7 separate regions of the Homo sapiens genome follow, and regions 2, 3, 4, 5, 6 and 7 are each linked to region 1. The links are contacts of gene promoters, found by promoter capture Hi-C in blood cells and fetal thymus (Javierre and others, 2016). All regions are on one chromosome and are shown on one strand. Each heading gives the region's core, a stretch centred on a gene start or on the middle of the fragment in contact. The rest is flanking DNA. Distances are from core to core; before and after follow the strand shown.

Region 1 (2,775 bases), core at 171-2,670:
TGCCCAGAAGGCTTTTAAAAACAAGCATTGAAAAGGGAACAATAAAAAGCGTCTCACCGCAAACACAGCACGAAAGGGACTGTCGGAAGTAAGGCAAGAGCCTGTTAATCTCAGTAAACGCCTTGGGGTCTCCGGGGTCGTAGTTGAGCACTAGGCGGCTCGCGGAAATGTAGAGAGCAGTAGCATTCACGGGGTTCATTGCAGACACTTCGACACCAATGGCTCCCGGTTGAAAAGAAATTCCGGATCCAACTTAGTAAGCAGCCAGGGAACGATGGCGAATTTGCAACAATTCGGAAGAAATCAGAGCCGAACCATTGGCCAAACAAGTAACCAAAATCCGTGCAAGTTTGTGGAGCTGAAACAATCCTCCCACACATGGGGCCTTGGCGCCCCTCCGTCCCTGAGACTTCCAGACCAAAAATATGAGAGAGAAACCAGCGTTCGAGTTCGTCCGGAGCGACCACAGAGCGCAGAACGCGGCGGCTTGGGCGCTCGGGGCGGGACTCGGAGCTCAGTCTAGCCCCGCGGCTCGGCAGGCGGCCTGCACTCGAGCTCCATCTCCGGACACGGAGGCGCCTCCTCAAGTCGAGCTGGCAGGCGCGGGAGCAGGCCCCGGCCCCGTCTGAGGCGCGGCACGCTTCTCCCGGGCTGCAGGGCCTCTTACTCCATCCCAGTACAGGGCGCGGAGGCGGCGGCGACGGCAAGGACGACGGTCGGGCAGCGGCTTCCCGGATCTAGTGCAAGACGCCGCGGCGGCGACGAAGGTTGATGTTGCGGCTGGCGGACGCCGCCGCCGCGCTCTCCATATCGGACGCGGGGCCCAGACTGCGCCCTGGCTCTCCGCCCCGTGGGTTGCAGCCCGCAGTTCCCCGAGGTGGCGAGGCGGGCGGGAGTCCTCAACCCGGAGGGGAAGGCCGGGGAGGAAGTGCGCGGGCCGCCGCCGGCGGGCGGGAGGGGGCGGGGGGCAAGCCCGGCCGGGCCGCGGCGGCGCCCCTCGCGCCTCAGTCGCACACTCCGGGGTCACCAGACTCAAGCGCCGCCCCCTCACTGCCCGGCCATTTTTTCGGCGCCACACACACAGACGACTCCTCCGCCGAGCACGACGGCCGCCGCCGCCCTCAGCACTCCCCGGCCGCGGAAGGCAAGCGCTCACACCGCCAGGCCCCGCCGCCGCCCAGCGCACACAGCAAGGCCCCGCCGCAGGCCCCTCCCCCGTGCCTCGCCGCCCTCACCCCGACTCCACGCGCCACTCCAGCTCGGTAGGGCCCGGGCTGCTGCGGCCTTAATGGATCCCGCGGGCTGTGTGGCGCCTCAGGCCTCTGCTGGCGGCGACGACGACCGTTACCCCAACGGGCAAAGCCACTGTCATCCCCGAGACTCCCCCGCCGCCGTCGTCGCTAGCGCTCGCACGCATGCGCAGAGCACACTCTCACCCCTCCCCCCTTTCCTCTCCCTTCGCTTCCCTTTTCCCTTGCTTCTCCTCTAACAACCCCCTCCACAGCCTCCCAGAGCTACCGGCTCACTCCACGCATGCGCAAGCTGCTACCTAGCTCCGCCGCCTTTCGCCCTTCCGCGTGCGCTTTGACCGCCCACCCAGAAAACCGGATAAACACATCAGCCTGCTCGCGCCAGTCCCTCACCGCTGCCAACCCACCCTGGGCTCACTGCGCATGCCTGGCTCTCCACTTCGACTCTCAGAATGGAGCATGCTCTCTGCGAGCCGACAGCTCTCTTCGCCCCTCCCCCACGTGCTCTCAAATTCCCTCTCCCAGGCATGTGGGCTGTGGTGAAACATTCGTTAGCTGGCACATCCTTCCCCAGTGTGGGCTGCAGGCTTCCCGCATTACACTGCTTCTGTGCCCGCCAACGCCGGGGCCCGACTTGGTAGCGCCATGTGGCGCTCTGCACTGGCCTGAACGCGGCCTCTCGTCCTGACTGACCGCGGTGTGAGGAAATAGCCGCGCCAGGCCCCAAGCCCCGCCCTCGCGGCCTTTCTCCTGGAACCGCTCATCCCGACCGCGGAAAGGGCGCAGCCTCGGCTGGCTGGCAGGCTCTCGCCGAGCCGGGAAGGCTGCAGTAGTCAACGTGGCTGCGCGCCCAGCAGGCGTGCGGACGGCTTTTGCCGGGTCGGGGCCGCGTTCCGCACCTCTCTGCGGTGGTTCGCAGTCAGAGGGCTCTAAGGCCCTGGCAGGCTGTATGTAAGCGTGGAGGCTCGAACCCACTGCCCCCTCCTACCCGTCGGACCCGCGCTGTTCCCACGGCCTCTGGCCCTTGGACTCGTGCGGCCTCACCTTCATGGGTGCCGATCAGGACTTCACCGAGCTCTCACCGGAACAGAGTCCTGTTTTAAAAACAAAACGAACTCCTTTTTTTTTTTTTTGAAAGACCTAGCTTTTTTAAAAGACCTAGCTCTTCTGTGTGAACAGATGTCTTGAAGAATGCGTGATCTTGCTCTAGAACAAACCCAAATCCTTGCAAATGTTTTGTTTTTTAAAACAAGCTTTTGCCTTTTGTTTTTGCAGGAGATCAAGGGCACTGGGATATAAATAAACAAAAGCCTGACTTAGTAGATGACTTCCCTCCCATCTCAAAGTACAAAACCTTTTTTTGAGTAGCACAAATAGTAACAGGCCATAGGAAGCATTTCTTATCTCTGTACACACCAAAGCTCCTCAGCATAATTTTTCATGCACAGTAGGTACTCTATACGTTTGCAAAGTGAAAATTATGATGCGTGTAAATCTATTGTGGCACATGTTACATATGTACACA
Region 2 (2,775 bases), core at 1-2,500, 2.7 Mb after region 1:
TGGTGAGGCTGCTGCTCTCTTCCCAGCCTTGGGTGCCTTTTGCCTTTCAGTTCTCGGGGAGGAGACAGGCTGGTCCTTCATTGCTGGCCCCGGCCAACTTCTCCGTCTCACTGGAGGTGGGCTGCTACCTGCCCACCAGGGCTTGGTCCTGGAAGCTTCCCTCCCTTGCTTTCTCTGCTTGAGACGGCAGTTGGGGGAGTGCTGACAGCCAGCTTCAGAACAGGGAGCCTCTGCCTGATGAAGCAAAGGCTCTGTCCATATTACTTTATTTTTCAGCAAGCCAGGAATACACACCCACAAATGCACACATCACCAATGAGGTATGAATGCCACACACACTGTGGTCCCAGTAAGCACTTCCTAAGTGTTAGCCATATGATTATTACAATGCCAAAAATATATGCCCACTCTGCAGGCGAATGACAGACACACACACCTCCCACCCTGTCACCAATACACAACTGACACTGTACACACACATTTGCAGCAGATACAGACTACACAATTACTTGCCCATGGGCTAAATTTTCACGCTAGACAAAGCACAAACAGACATGCACACAGCAGGCTGCTTTCTGTTCTGCAACTCCCCTTAGCCAGATAGTGGAGCAGCCGGGCACCAAAGGCACCCAGACACCAGGCCTGACCAGCCTCTAGGGCTTCCTGCTCCAGCTGAGCCTCCCTCTCCATCCTGCTCCTGCCGGTTCCTGGTAAGCTCCAGTCCCAGTCTTGAGGTGATGCCCCCTGAGAATCCCCGTGGCTTGGTCTCCTGCCTTGTAGCCTCTCGCAGGATGCCTGTGGGGGGCGGGGGGCATTCTGAGCAGAAGCCACTTGGGCCCAACTATACATAACAGGATACCACCCTGAGGTTCCTACCGCCTGACCACTGGAGGGCTGAAGTGAGAGGCCTGCAGGCTCATTCCCGTGGCGCAAAACCGCTCCTGGCCCACCAGCCGGCCTGGACCTGCCGCCACATTGCTGGCCAGGCCCCGAGATAGACGGGGGGGGGGCAGTGAGGGCTGGGTGCGGGGTCTAGTCTCAGCTGAGCAGCAGCCCGCAAGAACCGGCGGATCTATCCTATCAGAAGTCGGAAGTCATCTATCCCATCAGAAGAGTGAAAGCCGACCACCCCCTAATCCGCCTGGGAGAACCAGACTGCAACCAGGTCAAACGCCTGTGTGCCTGCGCGGAAGCATGGATCTTAATTCGTTATTTGGGGATCTCAGTAAAGGAAGAGAGAGAAAGAAAAAAGACTAAATTTCTGCAGCCGCGAAGTATGTTCAATCCTTACTGAAACCTCCAAATCTCCTACCCATATCTCAAGGTAAATGAATTCTGACTATTAAAAATAATAAAGCAGTCACTTCTCACATTTGTACAGAGGTTAGCAGTTTGCAGCGCATTTCCACAACCAGAATTTTATCTATTAATGTTTGGAACAAACTCTTGGCTGTTATAGTTGACTCAAAATCGAAAAGTTTGAGAACAATAATAAAAACACAGCCAGCCCATACACCTAGTACAACTGTGTATGAGGTAGAATACAAACTTGAATAGGTACAAAAATAAACCAAGTCCTACCTACAGTCGCGCCTTGTGAACGAACCACGGCAGAAAAAGTCTTTCTGCTGACGTTAAACAGCCGCAACGGGCCAGTGATGACACAGAAAACAAACAATCCCAGGAAAACAAAGCAGCAGCGACAGCCACAAACGCCTGCCACCCCGGTTGCTCTCAATCTTTGTTTAACTCATTCTGAAAAAGATAAAATTTTGCTGAAAATCTTCCTCTTTTAACTAGCTGCTGAACTAAGGAGCGACAGAAATAAAGAAGTCCGTGTTAAAAGAAGGAACACAAAATTTATTCGGGAATCGACAAGGCAAAAAACAAAAACAAAACAAAAAAACACAACAAAAGTGCTCTAGTTCTCTCTAGAAAATTTGGTCCCCCAAACAACAAGCTACAGTACAACCAGGTCTATGGTTTTCGGGCCGGGCCGGCTCCGGGCCACAAGACCGCCTAGGTCGGCCGCTGCCGGGTTTCACATTTCTCCTTCCCAAGGTGGGAGAAGCAGGAGGTTTGAAAAACAAAAAGCAGGGAGGACGAGCCGTCCCAGCAGCGTGGGCCAGGCAGGCAGTGATCTCCCTGCCTCCAGGACTTGCATCGAAAGATCCGGGGACATTTGTTTTTGATTTTTTTCTTCAGATAGGGAGAGGGTGAAACTTCCCCAATTGGTAGACGAAACCATCTTTTATTGGATATATTCTCCTAACTCTGAACACAGCTTTTTGAAGGCCCAACAAAAACTCTAACGCAAATCTTCCAGAAGAGAAGATGAGGAATACTAAAGCTTTTGATTTTCATATTTGGATTTAGCAAACTCCAAGGCCACAATACTTCCCCGGTTGCCCGGTGAATTTTTTTTCCTTTTTTTTTTTTTAAATACTCTCTTAAAAAGTTCCACCGATCTTTCAAACAAAACATTAGCCAGCCGCCGGGGCCCGGAGGTGCCCGAAGCGACGGGACTGATAGCGGAGGAAACGCAGCCTCCCTCCGCGCCCGCCCGCGGTGTAAACCGAGTACAGGCCGTGGAGCCAGGCTGCCCCGGCTCCCGCTGGGTCCCAACCCCCGCCCCGCCTAGTGGGCCCCGCGGCAAGCGGCTTCTGAACAGCTTCAAGAGGGTTCGCGGAGCAAACACACGTATTGGTCCGTCCCTTTCTCGGGCAGCGCGGTCCCGCCATCAGTCCTGTCCGGCGCGTCTAGCCATGGACTGCA
Region 3 (2,775 bases), core at 158-2,657, 2.7 Mb after region 1:
GAGCCCATGGAGTATTGGGCAAACCACACAGACTTGTCAATTGTTGATTTGGCACATCAGGACATTATTAGCAAAGCCAAATTCTATTATCAATTCAGAAAAGAAGGGATATTTTAATACCAAGAGCTTCTAAATGTAAGCTTCTCTCATTTCACCAAGGACTGGTAGAATAGGTAAGGATCTGCTGGTAGACCTGGCTGGTTCCCTTCACAGTTGGGTTGCTGCCTCGAGTACTCAAGGCCTCGACAACAAAGGGAGGGATATTCATTGTGGTTGTGAGTCTCTCAAAATACAGGCTTCACAGTGTCAAACCCAGTGTTTCACCTGCCCAGCCTGTTGCTGGTCGCCATCTCTGGGCTCTGGCACCTTTGGGACAAGTTTCTGTCGTTGCACTTCCCACGTTGTTTCATGGGCTTTACTGCCCCCCTCAGTGGCTTGCTGGCTAAAGACAGGAACCACATTAGATCTGACTGCTGGCTGCCCAACACTCAGCAAGTGCTCACCAAATGCCTGTTGCCCACATGAATTAAACTCAGTTTCACTCTTTTGTATCTCCAAATAATGAAAGAAATACTCACTGTACACTGCTTGAAAAATGAGAGGGGAAATGGCCAATTTCATGCTGAGAAAGGAAATATATTTGCTAGTTTTTCCCACAGGCTATTTTATAGCTACTTGATTTCATTTAGGTTGTGGTTATTTTCTGCTGGGCAATCTTTACTCCAAAGAGATGAGGGACCCATGCTTTGCATTGTCCCACCTTCTATAACCATGGTTCTCAGCCTTGCTGCACATTAGAAGCACCTGGGAGAGCTTAAAATACTGATGCTCAGGGGCCCACCTCTGACCAGCTCAATCAGACTCTCTGGGGGTAGGGTCTGAACATTGGTTTTTGTTTGTTGGTTTGCTTCATCTCTGAGAAAAACTCAGTGATGAGTTTTTCTCAGTGATTGTAATGTGCGTCAGTGGCTGAGAACCTGTGGCCTAGACACACTTTTTGGGCTCTTGCAACCGAGTGAGAGCCAGTGGTGAGATGGGGGAAGTCATGGACAAGGAAGGAGGGGAGACTGGAATTCCAGATATAGTCCGCAACTTCCCGTGGACTTGGACTTAAGCCCTTGGTTTTATCTTCTGTAAGATGGGGATAATGACGGCTGTCTCAAAATGCTGTTGAGATGATCTGAATGCCTGGCACAGAGGAATGCTTGTGATGGTTTCATGTGTCAATTAGGATAAGCTATGGTATCCAGATTTTTGGTCAAACAAGTAGCCTAAATGTTACTGTGAAGGTTTTTTTTTTTTTTTTTTTTTTTTTTTTTGGAGATGGAGTTTTGCTCTTGTTGCCCAGGCTGGAGTGCAATGGCGCGATCTCAGCTCACTGCAACCTCCGCCTCCCAGGTTCAAGTGATTCTCCTGCCTCAGGCTCCCCAGTAGCTGGGATTACAGGCTCCCGCCACCATGCCCTGTTAATTTTCTTTTTTTTTTTTTTTGAGACGGAGTCTCGCTCAGGCTGGAGTGCAGTGGCACGATCTAGGCTCACTACAACCTCCGCCTCCCGGGTTTTCTTACGCCATTCTCCTGCCTCAGCCTCCCGAGTAGCTGGGACTATAGGCGCTCGCCACCACGCCTGGCTAATTTTTTGTATTTTCAGTAGAGGCGGGGTTTCACTGTGTTAGCCAGGATGGTCTCGATCTCCTGACCTTGTGATCCGCCCGCCTGCGCCTCCCAAAGTGCCGGGATTACAGGCATGAGCCACCGCGCCCGACCTTAATTTTTGTATTTTTAGTGGAGACGGGGTTTTGTCATGTTGGCCAGGCTGGTCTTGAACTCCTGACCTCAGGTGATCCACCCGCCTCAGCCTCCCAAAGTGCTGGGATTACAGGCGTGAGCTACTGTACCTGGCTGGTATTTTTTTAAAGCTATGATTAACACTTAAATCAGTAGATTTTATTTTTTATTTTAATTTTTTAATTTTATTTTTTATTTTTATTTTTCGGGACAGAATCTCACTCTGTTGCCCAGGCTGGAGTGCAGTGGAGCAATCTCGGCTCACCCACCAGCTTCCGGGTTCAAGCAATTCTCCTGCCTCACCCTCCCGAGTAGCTGGGATCACAGGCACGCACCACCACACCCAGCTAATTTTTTTTTTTTTTTTTTTTTTTTTTGTATTTTCAGGAGAGATGGAGTTTCGCCATGTTGCCCAGGCTGGTCTTGAAATCCTGACCTCAATTGATGCCCCTCCTCAGCTTCCCAAAGTGCTGGGATTACAGGGGTGAGCCACTGTGCCTGGCCTTAAATCAGTAGACTTTGAGTAAAGCAGATTACCCTCCTTAATAGAAAAGACTGATGTCCCTGAAGAGGTAGGAGTTTTGCTTCCAGACTGCCTTTGGACTCAGGATTGCAGTGTGGGCCCTTGCCGGAGTTTCCTGTTTGTTCGCATGCCTTATAGGTTTTGGATTTTGGCCATCTTGTCGGAAGGAAAAAAATAAGATTTTGGATTTACCAGTCCCTGCAATCGCAGGAGTTAATTCCTTAAAATAAGCCCTTCTCCAACTCCTATTGTTTCTGTTTCTTTGGAGAATGCTGATGAATACAATGCTCAATAAATGATTGCTACTGTTGTTACCATCTAACTCAGTAGTGGCTAGGGCTGGTTTGGGGCAATAAGTAAGACTGAAGCTTTATGGGTCAGGGCAATAGGCATTATCCCAAGGAAATGACAGTGATGAGCTCTCACTATTGAATTCCAGAGTGTGAAGTCCAGATGTGAAGATA
Region 4 (2,775 bases), core at 111-2,610, 2.7 Mb before region 1:
TGTGGAGGGGGTCCATGAGAAATATACAGAAAAAAGAGAAAGAAAGGGACATGCATAGTAGGACAGCAAGAGAAGTTGCATGTTTCAATTTTGCCATGGATGGAGGAAGTAAAATCTGCCCGTATAATTTGAATCAAAAGTTGGTTCTCATGCAGTTTTCTGGTACTACTTGTGCCATCAAAAAAACCTCAGAGAATTTAATGTACAAATGCACCTCAACTTATGATGATGTTATGTCCTGATAAACCATCATAAGGTGACTATATCATAAGTCAACTTTATCCAGTTGTAAGTTGAGAAGCACACTGAATGCATATTGTTTTCACACTATCACAAAGTTGGAAAATCATAAGCTGAAACATCGTAAAGTTAGGGACCACCTGTAGTTTCACATTATTATGAGTTCCTTGGCAAGGGTAGAACCCAAAGCTTATATAATTTGATGCCCTCTTTTAAAAAAGAAATACAAAATATCTTACTCTTGCAAATTTTATAAAAACCTATGATGAGGCTGAGTGTGGTGGTTCACATCTGTGATCCCAGCGCTTTGGGAGGCTGAGACAGGCAGATCACTTGAGGCCAGGAATTTGAGACCATCCTGGCCAACATGGCAAAACTGCATCTCTCTACTAAAAATACAAAGAAAATTAGCTGGGTGTGGTGGCACGTGCCTCAGCTACTCTGGAGTCTGAAGCATGGGAATCACTTCAACTTGGGAGGCAGAGTTTGCAGTGAGCTGAGATAGCAACACTGCACTCCAACCTGGGCAACAGATTGAGACTGTCTCAGAAAAAAAATATGTAATTTGATCCCATGAAGCTGTGAGGTGGAACCCTTTCAGGACCTTGGAAGGGCCATGCAAATGAGGTGTCCTGAAGCTTTACTCTCATTGGTAACTCAGCCTGTGCCCCAAGTGACAGGCAGAAGCAAAGAAAAATCCTCTACAAATGAACACAATTTTAATCGAAACAACAGCAATCACAACATACCATCAACTATTATCATATCCTGACTTCAGAGATGTTAAAGTACACAACAGTATGCTTCTTAGGAGCAATGAAATATGATATTTCAAAAAGAAAAAAGATAATGTAAATTTTGACCCTGACTTGGCTAAGACAATAACACATGACAACAACAATGATGATAGCTATCATTTATCAAGCTCCTACAGTGTGCCAGCCTTCTCACAAACTTTTTTTCTGCTCCTCACATGAGCTTAATGCCACCACCAAAGACTTGAAAGATACAAGGTAGTGATTCCTACCAAATCCACAATTAACTCACTTGTTTGATCAGTGTACAAATCAAGTAGGTCATAGAAAATGACCACAGATCATCACGGACTAATCCAGTGGTGAGGTGAATCACAACCAGAATTGCAGAGACGGTATTTTTACTGGAGCAAATCCACACAGTCCCTGGCACCTGGGCCACTATTGACCTGGCAAATGCTTTATCCTGCCCACCCCCACCTTAATCCTCTTCTGCCCTGTTGTGGCAGGGACAGCAGTATACTTTTACTGTCCTGCCTCCGGGCTATGTCGGCTTGCCTGCACTTAGTCAGAATGCAATCTGGAGGGACCCAGAAGCCCAAGCTGATCCATTACATATCTTTATCATGCTAATTGGACCTGGAGAGCCCCAAAGAGCTAGCACCTAAATGCCTTAGTAAAGTACCTGCAATGCCAGAAAATGGGAGATAAAGCCTGACAATATTCAGGAGTCTGCCACATGCGTGAAGCCTCTAGAGTCCAGTGGTCTGGGCTTTGTTGGGATAGACCTTCTAACATGAGATTCAAGTTGTACTTTACACCAGAAAGAGCCATGAAGAAAAAGATATGAAGCTTAATTTTCAGAAGTAACACAAACCAGATTTGAGTATCTGTTGCTGTGAACCACTAACTCAAGTAACCCTTAAGGGTACAAGGTTTTTGGCTTTTGTTTTTGAATTTTTATTTTAACATAATTTCAGGCTTACAGAGCAGTTGAAAGAATAGTTGAAGAATTGCCATATACCCTTCACTCAGATTTCACAAATATTAACATTTTCATAGGCAGACAGAAGCAAATTATTTTTAAGTTGAAGTAGTTAAGTTTCTTTTATACTTATTTAGTTCTAGGAATTTTGACTGATAGACATTGACTGGTGGGGGAGGTGGAGGTTGCTGGCTGACCAAGGTGATCTGTGGTGGTTGGTGGCATGTTGGTGGCTAAAGCAGGCAATGTGCAGTGTGGTAAGGATGTGTCATAGTGACCACCTGGATGAGCCAGCAGGGCCAGGTATAATGAAACATTGCCATGGAGTTTCTTCCCCCAGATACAGTGTGGCCCAGGTGGATGCCACGGTGCCACCCTCTGGTGCTGAGGAGCCCACACTGTGCGGAGCCTGCCCTGCCTATGCACCGGTGCCGATGACCCAGCCAGGCCTGATTTAGCCCCACCAGGCAGGCAGCAATGGCCCCTCTCAAGCATGGAGCTCCCTCCCTGAGACAGGAAGCTATTGGAGAACTGGGCTTTGAAGCCATCAACTCACAGCTAACTGTAGAGAGCAAAGATACCCACATTATCAGCAGGATTGAGAGCTACTCACGTAAGATAGCAGGAGACGACAAACACTGTTCTGACAGGAGGGCGGCCCACATACTGAAGGCTCTCTCCCCATCCCAGACCTCAGGCCTCAGCCCCAGCAGCCTGAGCAAGAACCAAGGTGGCAAGGACAAGGGCCCCCCTCAGGGACAAGTGCAATTGCAAGACCCTCTTCCACTTGATTGT
Region 5 (2,775 bases), core at 183-2,682, 2.6 Mb after region 1:
ACAACTTTTCCACCTTCAATGTTGGAGCTGGTATTGTTCTCAATGACTACTTTGTCAAGCTCATTTCCTGGTATGACAATGAATTTGGCTACAGCAACAGGGTGGTAGACCTTATGGTGCACATGGCCTCCTGGACCACCAGCCCCAGTGAGACCATGTAAGTAAGAGAGAGGCCCTCAGCTGCTGTGCAGTCCTGCCCCACTCAGTCCCCCGCCATCACACTGAGAATCTCCCTTCCCAGACACGGTTTCCATGCCAGACCCCCTGAAAAATGGGATAGGCCTAGAAAGCTCCACTTTGTAGTGCACCATCAATAAAGTCCTCTGTATTCAGCACCCCTCTACTGCCAAAAAAAAAAATAGCAACACACACATTTTCCAAATATATATCTTACTCTATGTCATTTCTTTTTTTTTTTTTTTTTGAGACGGAGTCTCGCTCTGTCGCCCAGGCTGAAGTACAGTGGCATGATCTCGGCATACTGCAAGCTCTGCCTCCTGGGTGCACGCCATTCTCCTGCCTCAGCTTCCCGAGTAGCTGAGACTACAGGTACCCACCACCATGCCCGGCTAATTTTTTTGTATTTTTAGTAGAGACAGGGTTTCACCGTGTTAGCCAGGATGGTCTTGATCTCCTGACCTCATGATCTGCCCACCTCAGCCTCCCAAAATGCTGGGATTACAGGCGTGAGCCACCACGCCCGGCCTTCTTTTTTTTTTTTTTTTTTTTGAGACAGGCTGTCACTCTGTCACCCAGGATGGAGTACAGTGGCACGATCTTGGCTCACTGCAACATCTACCTCCTGGGCTCAAGCAATCCTCCCACATCAAGCCTCCCGAGTAGTTGGGACCACAGGTGCATGCCACCATGCCTGGCTAATTTTTTGTATTTTTGGTAGACGTGGGGTTTTGCCATGTTGCCCAGGCTGGTCTCGAACTCCTGAACTCAAGTGATCCATCTGCCTTAGCCTCCCAAAGGGCTGGGATTACAAGCATGAAATCGCTGCACCTGGCCAAATTTTTTTTTTTTTTAATAGAGACAGTGTCTTGCTTTGTTGCCCAGGCTGTCTTGAAACCCTAGCTCAAGCAATCCTCCTGCTTCGGCCTCCCAAAGTGCTAGGATTACAGGTGTGAGCCACCATGCCTGGCCCAAGGGCATTTCTTATGAGAAATATTTTCTTCTAATATACAGATAACTTTAGTATATCAGCAAACAAGTTAATCTCTAAAATTAGAATTATGCAGGTCCAAGTTCTACTGAAATTTAAATGGCACTGAGAACTTTTTTTTTTCTTTTGAGACAGAGTCTCGCTCTGTTGCCCAGGCTGGAGTGCAGTGGCGAGACCTCAGCTCACTGCAACTTCTACCTCCCAGGTTCAAACAATTCTCCTGCCTCAGCCTTCCAAGTAGCTGAGATTACAGGCACACATCACCACACCCGGCTAATTTTTGGTATTTTTAGTAGAGACAGAGTTTTGCTAATGTTGGCCAGACTGGTCTCGAACTCCCGACCTCAAGTGATCCACCCACCTTGGCTTCCAAAGTGTTAGGATTACATGTGTGAGCCCACCAGAAAACTAACTTTTGTTTTTTTGTTTTTTTTGTTTTTTTGAGACGGCGTCTTGCTCTGTTGCCAGGCTGGAGTGCAGTGGTGCAATCTCGGCTCACTGCAACCTCCGCCTCCAGGGTTCAAGTGATTCTCCTGCCTCAGCCTCCCAAGTAGCTGGGATTACAGGTGTGTACCACCATGCCCAGCTAATTTTTGTATTTTTAGTACAGATGGGGTTTCACCATTTTGGCCACAATGGTTTCGATCTCTTGACCTCGTGATCTGCCCACCTTGGCCTCCCAAAGTGCTAGGATTACAGGTGTGAGCCACTGTGCCCAGCCCTTAAACTATAATTAACTTACTTTAGTTGTGAATGTTACTATCATTTCCAAAAAGAAAGCAGTGTGGGCTAAATGTTTTTAAAATTATGTCTTTTTTCTTTTTTTCTCTGAGACTTTTTTCTGAGTGTCTCTCACTGTCATGCAGGCTGGAATACAGTGGCGCCATCTTAGCTCACTATAGCCTCTACCTCCTGGGATCAAGCCATCCTCCTGTCTCAGCCTCCTAAGTAGCTGAGACTACAAGCATACACCACTTCACCTGACTAATTTTGTGGGGTTTTTTTGTTTTGTTTTTTTGTAGAGACAGGGTATCGCTATGTTGCCCAGCCTGATCTAAAATTCCTGGCCTCAAGCAATCCTCCCGCCTCAGCTTCCCAAAGTGCTGATGTTACAAGCATGACCCACAATGCTCCAGCTAAAAATTAAGTCTTTACATAAAAATGAAACTTCTGGGCTCGTGCCTGTAATCCCAGCACTCTGGGAGGCCAAGGCAGGAGAATCGCTTCAGCCCAGGAGCTCAAGGCCAACCTAAGCAACACAGTGTGACCTCATCTCTACAAAAAAATAAACAAAATTAGCCAGGCATGGTGGTGCTCACCTGCAGCCCCAGCTACTCAGGATGTTGAGGTGAGAGAATTGCTCGAGCCCAGTAGGTTGAGGCCATAGTAAGCCAAGATCTTGGCACTGCACTCTAGCCTGGGTGACAGACTGAGATCTTATCTCAAAAAAAAAAAAAACAACAAAAAACGAAAATGAAACTTCTGGCTAGGCATGGTGGCTCATAGCTGTAATCTTAGCACTTTAGGAGATGGAGGTAGGAGGGCGGCTTGAGCCCAGGAGTTTGAAGCCAGCCTGGACAACATAGTGAGACCCCCATCTCTACAGA
Region 6 (2,775 bases), core at 124-2,623, 2.4 Mb after region 1:
ACCTCCCAAGGTCAAGTGATTCTCCTGCCTCAGCCTCCTGAGTAGCTGGGATTACAGACGCATGCCACCACGCCCGGCTAATTTTTGTATTTTTAGTAGAGCTAGGGTTTCACCACGTTGGCCAGGCTGGTCTCAAACTTCTGACCTCAGGCAATCCGCACCTGGCCTCCCAGAGTGCTGGGATTACAGGTGTAAGCCACTGTGCCCGGCTGTTTTTTTTTTTTTTTTTTTTTGAGACAGAGTCTTGCTCTTCGCCCAGGCTGGAGTGCAGTGGCTCAATCTCAGCTCACTCCAACCTCCACCTCCCAGGTTGAAGCGATTCTCCTGCCTCAGCCTCCCAAGTAGTTGGGACTACAGGCATGCACCACCACGCCCCTCTAAGTTTTATATTTTCAGTAGTGACGGGGTTTTGCCATGCCTGCCTCAGCATCCCAAAGTGCTGGGATTACAGGCGTGAGCCACTGAGCCCGGCTGTTTCTTTTTGTGTGTGTTTTTTTTAATGAAACAGGGTCTCGCTCTGTTGCCCAGGCTGGAGTGTAGTGGTGCAATCACAGCTCTCTGCAGCCTCTACCTCCCTTCAGGGCCCAAGCAATTCTCCCACCTCAGCGTCCCAAGTAGCTAGGATTACAGGCCTGAGCCGCTAATTATTTTCTTTTCTTCTTTCTCATTCTCTCTCTCTCTTTTTTTTTTTTTTTACCATGTTGCCCAGGCTGGTCTTGAACTCCTGGACTCAAGAGATCCGCCACTCTGCCTCCCAAAATGCCGTGATTACAGGTATGAGCCACCACACCCAGCAATGCTGCAAGTCTTATGGGCCAGGATAGTGTAATCTAAGAAATGATATATGAAGAACTCTCACAATAGGGAAGAGGTGAGGAGTGTCCAGGCAGAGAGAAGAGCATTTGCAGAGGCCCTGGGCGAGAAGAAACCTGCATCCTTTAAGGACCTAAATGAAGCCAAGCAGGCAGAGGCTAGATCACACATGGGGGCTTCATGCCCACCTTAAGTAGTTTGGGTCTTTAAAAAAGGAATGAGACTCATAAAGAGGTTTTAAGGAGCGAATGCTATTGCTGCCATGAACAGATATTCCTTCCCCATAGCTGCAGAGCAGGCACAGGGCTGTTTTTGCCCGCCAGTATGTCCCCACCGTCTAGCCCAGAGCGGGGCCAGCGGCCGGCTCCTACCCACACTTGCTGGCAGGAAGACTGGACGCACTGCGGGACATGGTGATGTCCTGGGTTGGGGCTGAGGAAGGCCTATGCGCGGAGGGTGCGGCCTTCGGCTAAGGCAGAGGACCAGGGTTGGGTCCGTGGCGGCGGGAGGGGTGGCCTCCTGCGCTGGTCGCCCCAGGGGACCTGAGAGGCGCGACAAACAGTCGGCGCGTTTGGTACTCGCGCCTGCAGAGCTTTCAACCTCCGCGCCGGCTGCGCCTGTTTCTCGGCCAGGGGAGCAAGGCCACGCGGCCTACGCAGCCGAGTCGGAACCAACCGGTTGTTTGGTGAAACCTACCCCAGAGCCTCCCGCGGCCCACAGAGCACAGGTGAGGCAGCAGACCGGGTGGGGTCGGTGTCGCGCCTGCGCCCGCCCGGACGCCTCGGGCCCGCCCGCTCCGCACCCTGGAAACCCCTGCACTCAGCCCCCCGGCGTCCCCACGCTCTCGGCCCTGCTGCGCCGGCGGCGGCCATCTCTGGGCGGCGGCGGCGGGCGGTGTTTGCGCGGTCGGTGAGACCCGCGCGGGTGAGACGCTGGGTGAGTTCCGGACGCTTCCAGCCGGCCCGCCGGTGATCCCAGACCTCGGGGCGGGACGCGGCTCCCGCTCACCGCCGGCAAAGGTGGAGGTGCGGCGGGGCGCGGGGCGCGGGGCCAGCCCGGGGCGGTGCGGGGGCGTCCCTGCCTAGCGAGGCCCTGCCCCGCGACCTGCCGCACCCTCCTCCGGCCTGTTCGCGACCTCTAAAGATAATACTTCTCACTGTCGAAAACGTGGAACAGAAAGCAAGGAAGCAAGCAAAGCAGCCGTGCCGCTGCTCCCCAGAGACAAGCTGCGTTAACATGAGGGTGTATATTCTTCCAGATGGTTTTTCCTTGTAACATGAGCGGGGCTTGTTTTTGCAGAACCTGCATCATAAAGTGCTGAAACTCTCTCTCTCTCTCTCTCTCTCTCTCTCTCTCTCTCTCTCTCGACTCTCTCTCTCTCGACTCTCTCTCTCTCTCTCTCGACTCTCTCTCTCTCTCTCTCTCTCTCTCGACTGTACATTCCTGTGTGTCAGGTTGACTACCTCATCCATCCCTGACTCTTGGCATGGCTTTGGACTGTGATTTACTAAATGTAGTTTCTCCCTGATGGTGAGCGTACAAGTGGTTTTCAGTTTTTAGTTATTGCAAAAAGTAATTCATTGAGCATCGTTGTATCTGGGTTTTTGAGCGTGATCATTTCTGTAGAAAGAATCGCACAAGATTCGTTCTAAAACAAGATAGAATCCACGGTCTATACCACAAGGCTTCTGGTATAGATTGTGAAATGGCCCTCAGAAAAGTTATTCTCCTTTTTGTACCTCCAGTAAGTAGCATTTGGGAATACTTGGCTCGAGGAGCTTCCTGAGTGATTTTACTGGAGACCCCCCTCACTTCATAAGGGGCCGGCCCGGAGATGAAGATGTCAACACTTGAGTGTGACTTGCATTATTGGCTGGCCCTACCTGGGGGCCTTTGCTGAAAAGGGAACCATGAGCATCTTAGTAACTACTATCATCTAGTAATTTTTAAACTGACTTCGGT
Region 7 (2,775 bases), core at 117-2,616, 2.4 Mb after region 1:
CGAGGATGTGAGGGAACTAGAACTCTCATATACTGCCGACGGGAATTTAAACTAGTACAACCACTTTGTAAATCACTTTGGCTATTTCTTAAAAGGTTAATAAGCACTTACCATAAGACCCAGTCATGCCATTCCTAGAATTTACCCAAGAGAAATGAAAGCATTATGTCCACACAAAGACTGTACACAAATGTTCGTAAGAGCTTTATCTATAATAGCCAGAAACTGGAAACAACTCAAATGTCCAGCAGCAGGTGAACAGACACACAAACTGTGGTATACCCATTGGATGGAATACCCCTCAGCAATAAAAAAGAATATGTGCAACATGGATAAATGTCAAAATAATTACGCTGAAAGCCAGCCATAAAATAGTACATACTATAACATTCCATTTATATAAAACTCTAGAAAATGAAAACCAACTGTGGTGATAGAAAGCAGATCAGTGGTTGCTGAGAGAATTGGAGGCTAGACACAGAGACTACTAACGAGAACAAGGGAATTTGGGGGGATGATGGATATATTGACAATCCTGATTGGGGTGGTTTCATAGGTGTATATGTAAGTCAAAACTTATACTACATATGTGCAGCTTATTGTATATTAAATATATCAATAAAGCTGTTTTAAAAATAAAGTTTTCCTGAAATTTAAAAAAAGATTTGAAACTACAAATGGAAAGAAAATATGAAGTACCTGAGAATACTGACCCAAAACAACCAACACAGTGATATATTCTAATATTATTAGCAGACTTTAATGAAAAAGAAAAAATTTGGCTGGGCGTAGTGGCTCATGCCTGTAATCTCAGCACTTTGGAAGCCTGAGGCAGGTGGATCACTTGAGCCTGGGTTCATGACCAGCCTGGGCAACTTGGCAAAACCCTGTCTCTCAAGAAAAAAAAAAAAAAAAATTAGCTGGGTGTGGCAGCATACACCTGTAGTCCTAGCTACTCAGGAGGCTGAGGTGGGAGGACTGCTTGAACCCAGGAGGTGGAGGCTGCAGTGAGCCAAGATCATACCACTGCACTACAGCCAGGGTGACAGAGTAAGACTGTATCTCAAAAAGAAAAAAAGAAAACAAATTATTTGGTTATCTACAAGAAAAAAACCCACATGACTTATAAGAAGAAGAAAAATTAGATAATAATCTGACTTTGATACCAATACTTTATTCCAGAAGAAAAAGGAGTAATGTATTTAAGAAATTCACGGAAAAGAAGTGTGAGCCAAAGACTTTATATCTGCAAAATTGACTTTGAAGTATAAAAAGAATAAACTTTGATCAATATATAAGAACTCAGACAATATTACTTCCCGAGGAATCTAACAATGTATTAGCTTCAGGTAGCCAAAATGCCTAGAGAGACCTCAGCATAAACACTGGTGGTAAACATTAAATATATTAATAGAACTAATAGGCTAAGAGGGAAAAAGCAGAACATGAAATGGCTATATACTCTGACAATGCAGATAGAGCATAACTGTTAAAACAGAGAGAGAAGAAAAAATGAGAAGAACATAAGCCAAAAAAAAAAGGTTTAATGTTTTCAGTAATCATATTGATGGTGATTTCAGAAATATAGTTCTGATACTGTCATATGTATAATACAGAATAATGAGTAAATATGGAATATTCTATTTTCTCCTATATTCTTGAGAATCATGATTCTCAGTATGGAAAAAAGGAGTTACAGTTGTGATAGAGAAGTTGTTAAGTAAAAGCTCTGTAATCTCAATCTGAAGACTGGAAGTAGAATACATTAGGTATCTTTTAACATGTGTGTCTATAGACAGATACAGGTATCCTAGCTCTGTCTACTGAAATGCCTGAAACAGTGACTAACTCAGGATCTTTAGCATTCAGACTGTAACTGAAATATTATTTCCCTCTAAATGAAACCCGGGCATTTTAAAGAAATGGCTGATTTCATATCTGCGATAGGAATTGTTCAATATATTATATAACAAGGAAGCTATCAAAAACTAGGAGGCCAGGCTCACAGTGCAGCTTGGCCAACATGGTGATACCCCGTTTCTACTAAAAATACTAAAAAAAAAAAAAAAATAGCCGATCCTGGTGGTGTGTGCCTATAATCCCAGCTACTTAGGAGGCTGAGGCAGGAGAATCACTTGAACCCAGGAGACAGAGGTTGCAGACAGCTGAGATCGTGCCACTGCACTCCAGCCTGGACAACAGAATGAGACTCTATCTCATAAATAAATAATAAAAAAAAAACAGGGAAGTGATTACTACAAAACTATAAAACCCAGAAGAATGGTGACTAAATGGGAACACAGGAGTTTTGACTGGGATAGGGTAATGGAGGGGATCTGGCATACCTGAATGGTATGGTCCTGTAATAATTTATTAAGCTATACATTTGGTATGTGATTTATAACAAAAATTTCATTTTACGCTAAAAAGATTTTGTTAAATAACAAAAAATAGAAAAGTAAAGGAAATGCTAACCTAACCAAAATAAAGCTGGTACGGGTTGAACGTTCCTAATATGAATATTTGAAATCCAAAATGCTCCAAAATCCAAAACTTTTTGAGCACCAACTTGACACCACAAGTAGAAAATTCCACACCTGACCTTATGTGACAGGTCACAGTCACAACTTCATTTCATGCATAAAACTATTAAAAATGTATAAAATTAGCTTCAGGCTGTGTGTATAAGCTGTATATGAAACAATAAATGAATTTTGTGTTTAGAGTTACCCAACTCTAAACAAGATACCTCATGTATATACAAATATTCCAATT

Evidence for each region. The method cuts DNA at HindIII sites, captures the fragments that hold promoters and counts their contacts. A CHiCAGO score of 5 or more calls a contact.
Region 2: a fragment that was not itself captured here is called in contact with the fragment with the promoter of MSL2 in region 1 in 1 of 17 cell types (activated CD4 T cells); the score reaches 7.8 in activated CD4 T cells.
Region 3: a contact is called between a fragment that was not itself captured here and the fragment with the promoter of MSL2 in region 1, in 1 of 17 cell types (neutrophils). The highest score is 5.3, in neutrophils.
Region 4: a fragment that was not itself captured here is called in contact with the fragment with the promoter of MSL2 in region 1 in 3 of 17 cell types (fetal thymus, non-activated CD4 T cells and naive CD8 T cells); the score reaches 8.4 in fetal thymus.
Region 5: a contact is called between a fragment that was not itself captured here and the fragment with the promoter of MSL2 in region 1, in 2 of 17 cell types (total CD8 T cells and non-activated CD4 T cells). The highest score is 7.5, in total CD8 T cells.
Region 6: a contact is called between the fragment with the promoter of FAIM here and the fragment with the promoter of MSL2 in region 1, in 6 of 17 cell types (naive CD8 T cells, total CD8 T cells, total B cells and 3 more). The highest score is 6.5, in naive CD8 T cells.
Region 7: a fragment that was not itself captured here is called in contact with the fragment with the promoter of MSL2 in region 1 in 2 of 17 cell types (activated CD4 T cells and fetal thymus); the score reaches 6.0 in activated CD4 T cells.

The regions. Positions count from the first base shown.
Region 1 is chr3:136,194,915-136,197,689 of GRCh38, forward strand. MSL2 (MSL complex subunit 2) reads right to left here and starts at 1,421. Exons shown (of 2, transcript NM_018133.4): 1 at 58-1,421. The coding sequence starts at 199. RefSeq lists enhancers at 209-278, 329-378, 378-1,124, 429-498, 1,125-1,871 and 2 more and a silencer at 839-1,228. The HindIII fragment of the contact is 2,546 bases long and covers 1-2,501 here.
Region 2 is chr3:138,942,385-138,945,159 of GRCh38, forward strand. It overlaps FOXL2 (forkhead box L2), which reads right to left. Exons shown (of 1, transcript NM_023067.4): 1 at 1,840-2,775. It overlaps LINC01391 (long intergenic non-protein coding RNA 1391), which reads right to left and starts at 1,636. Exons shown (of 3, transcript NR_121649.1): 1 at 1,582-1,636; 2 at 1-234. RefSeq lists an enhancer at 2,139-2,728. The HindIII fragment of the contact is 2,195 bases long and covers 154-2,348 here.
Region 3 is chr3:138,919,085-138,921,859 of GRCh38, forward strand. No RefSeq gene overlaps it. Among named protein-coding and RNA genes, the nearest start is that of LINC01391, 24 kb to the right of the region's middle. The HindIII fragment of the contact is 2,539 bases long and covers 139-2,677 here.
Region 4 is chr3:133,488,309-133,491,083 of GRCh38, forward strand. It overlaps BFSP2-AS1 (BFSP2 antisense RNA 1), which reads right to left. Exons shown (of 4, transcript NR_189064.1): 1 at 2,594-2,775. It also overlaps the pseudogene MAF1P1. Among named protein-coding and RNA genes, the nearest start is that of BFSP2-AS1, 1.4 kb to the right of the region's middle. RefSeq lists enhancers at 723-772, 793-922. The HindIII fragment of the contact is 969 bases long and covers 877-1,845 here.
Region 5 is chr3:138,778,680-138,781,454 of GRCh38, forward strand. The region is part of intron 2 of PIK3CB (phosphatidylinositol-4,5-bisphosphate 3-kinase catalytic subunit beta); the gene reads right to left. It also overlaps the pseudogene GAPDHP39. Among named protein-coding and RNA genes, the nearest start is that of PIK3CB, 55 kb to the right of the region's middle. The HindIII fragment of the contact is 4,184 bases long and covers 1-2,775 here.
Region 6 is chr3:138,607,398-138,610,172 of GRCh38, forward strand. FAIM (Fas apoptotic inhibitory molecule) reads left to right here and starts at 1,374. Exons shown (of 6, transcript NM_001033031.2): 1 at 1,374-1,540. RefSeq lists a silencer at 1,462-1,921 and an enhancer at 2,022-2,111. The HindIII fragment of the contact is 4,797 bases long and covers 1-2,775 here.
Region 7 is chr3:138,588,593-138,591,367 of GRCh38, forward strand. The region is part of intron 2 of CEP70 (centrosomal protein 70); the gene reads right to left. Among named protein-coding and RNA genes, the nearest start is that of CEP70, 4.3 kb to the right of the region's middle. The HindIII fragment of the contact is 7,821 bases long and covers 1-2,775 here.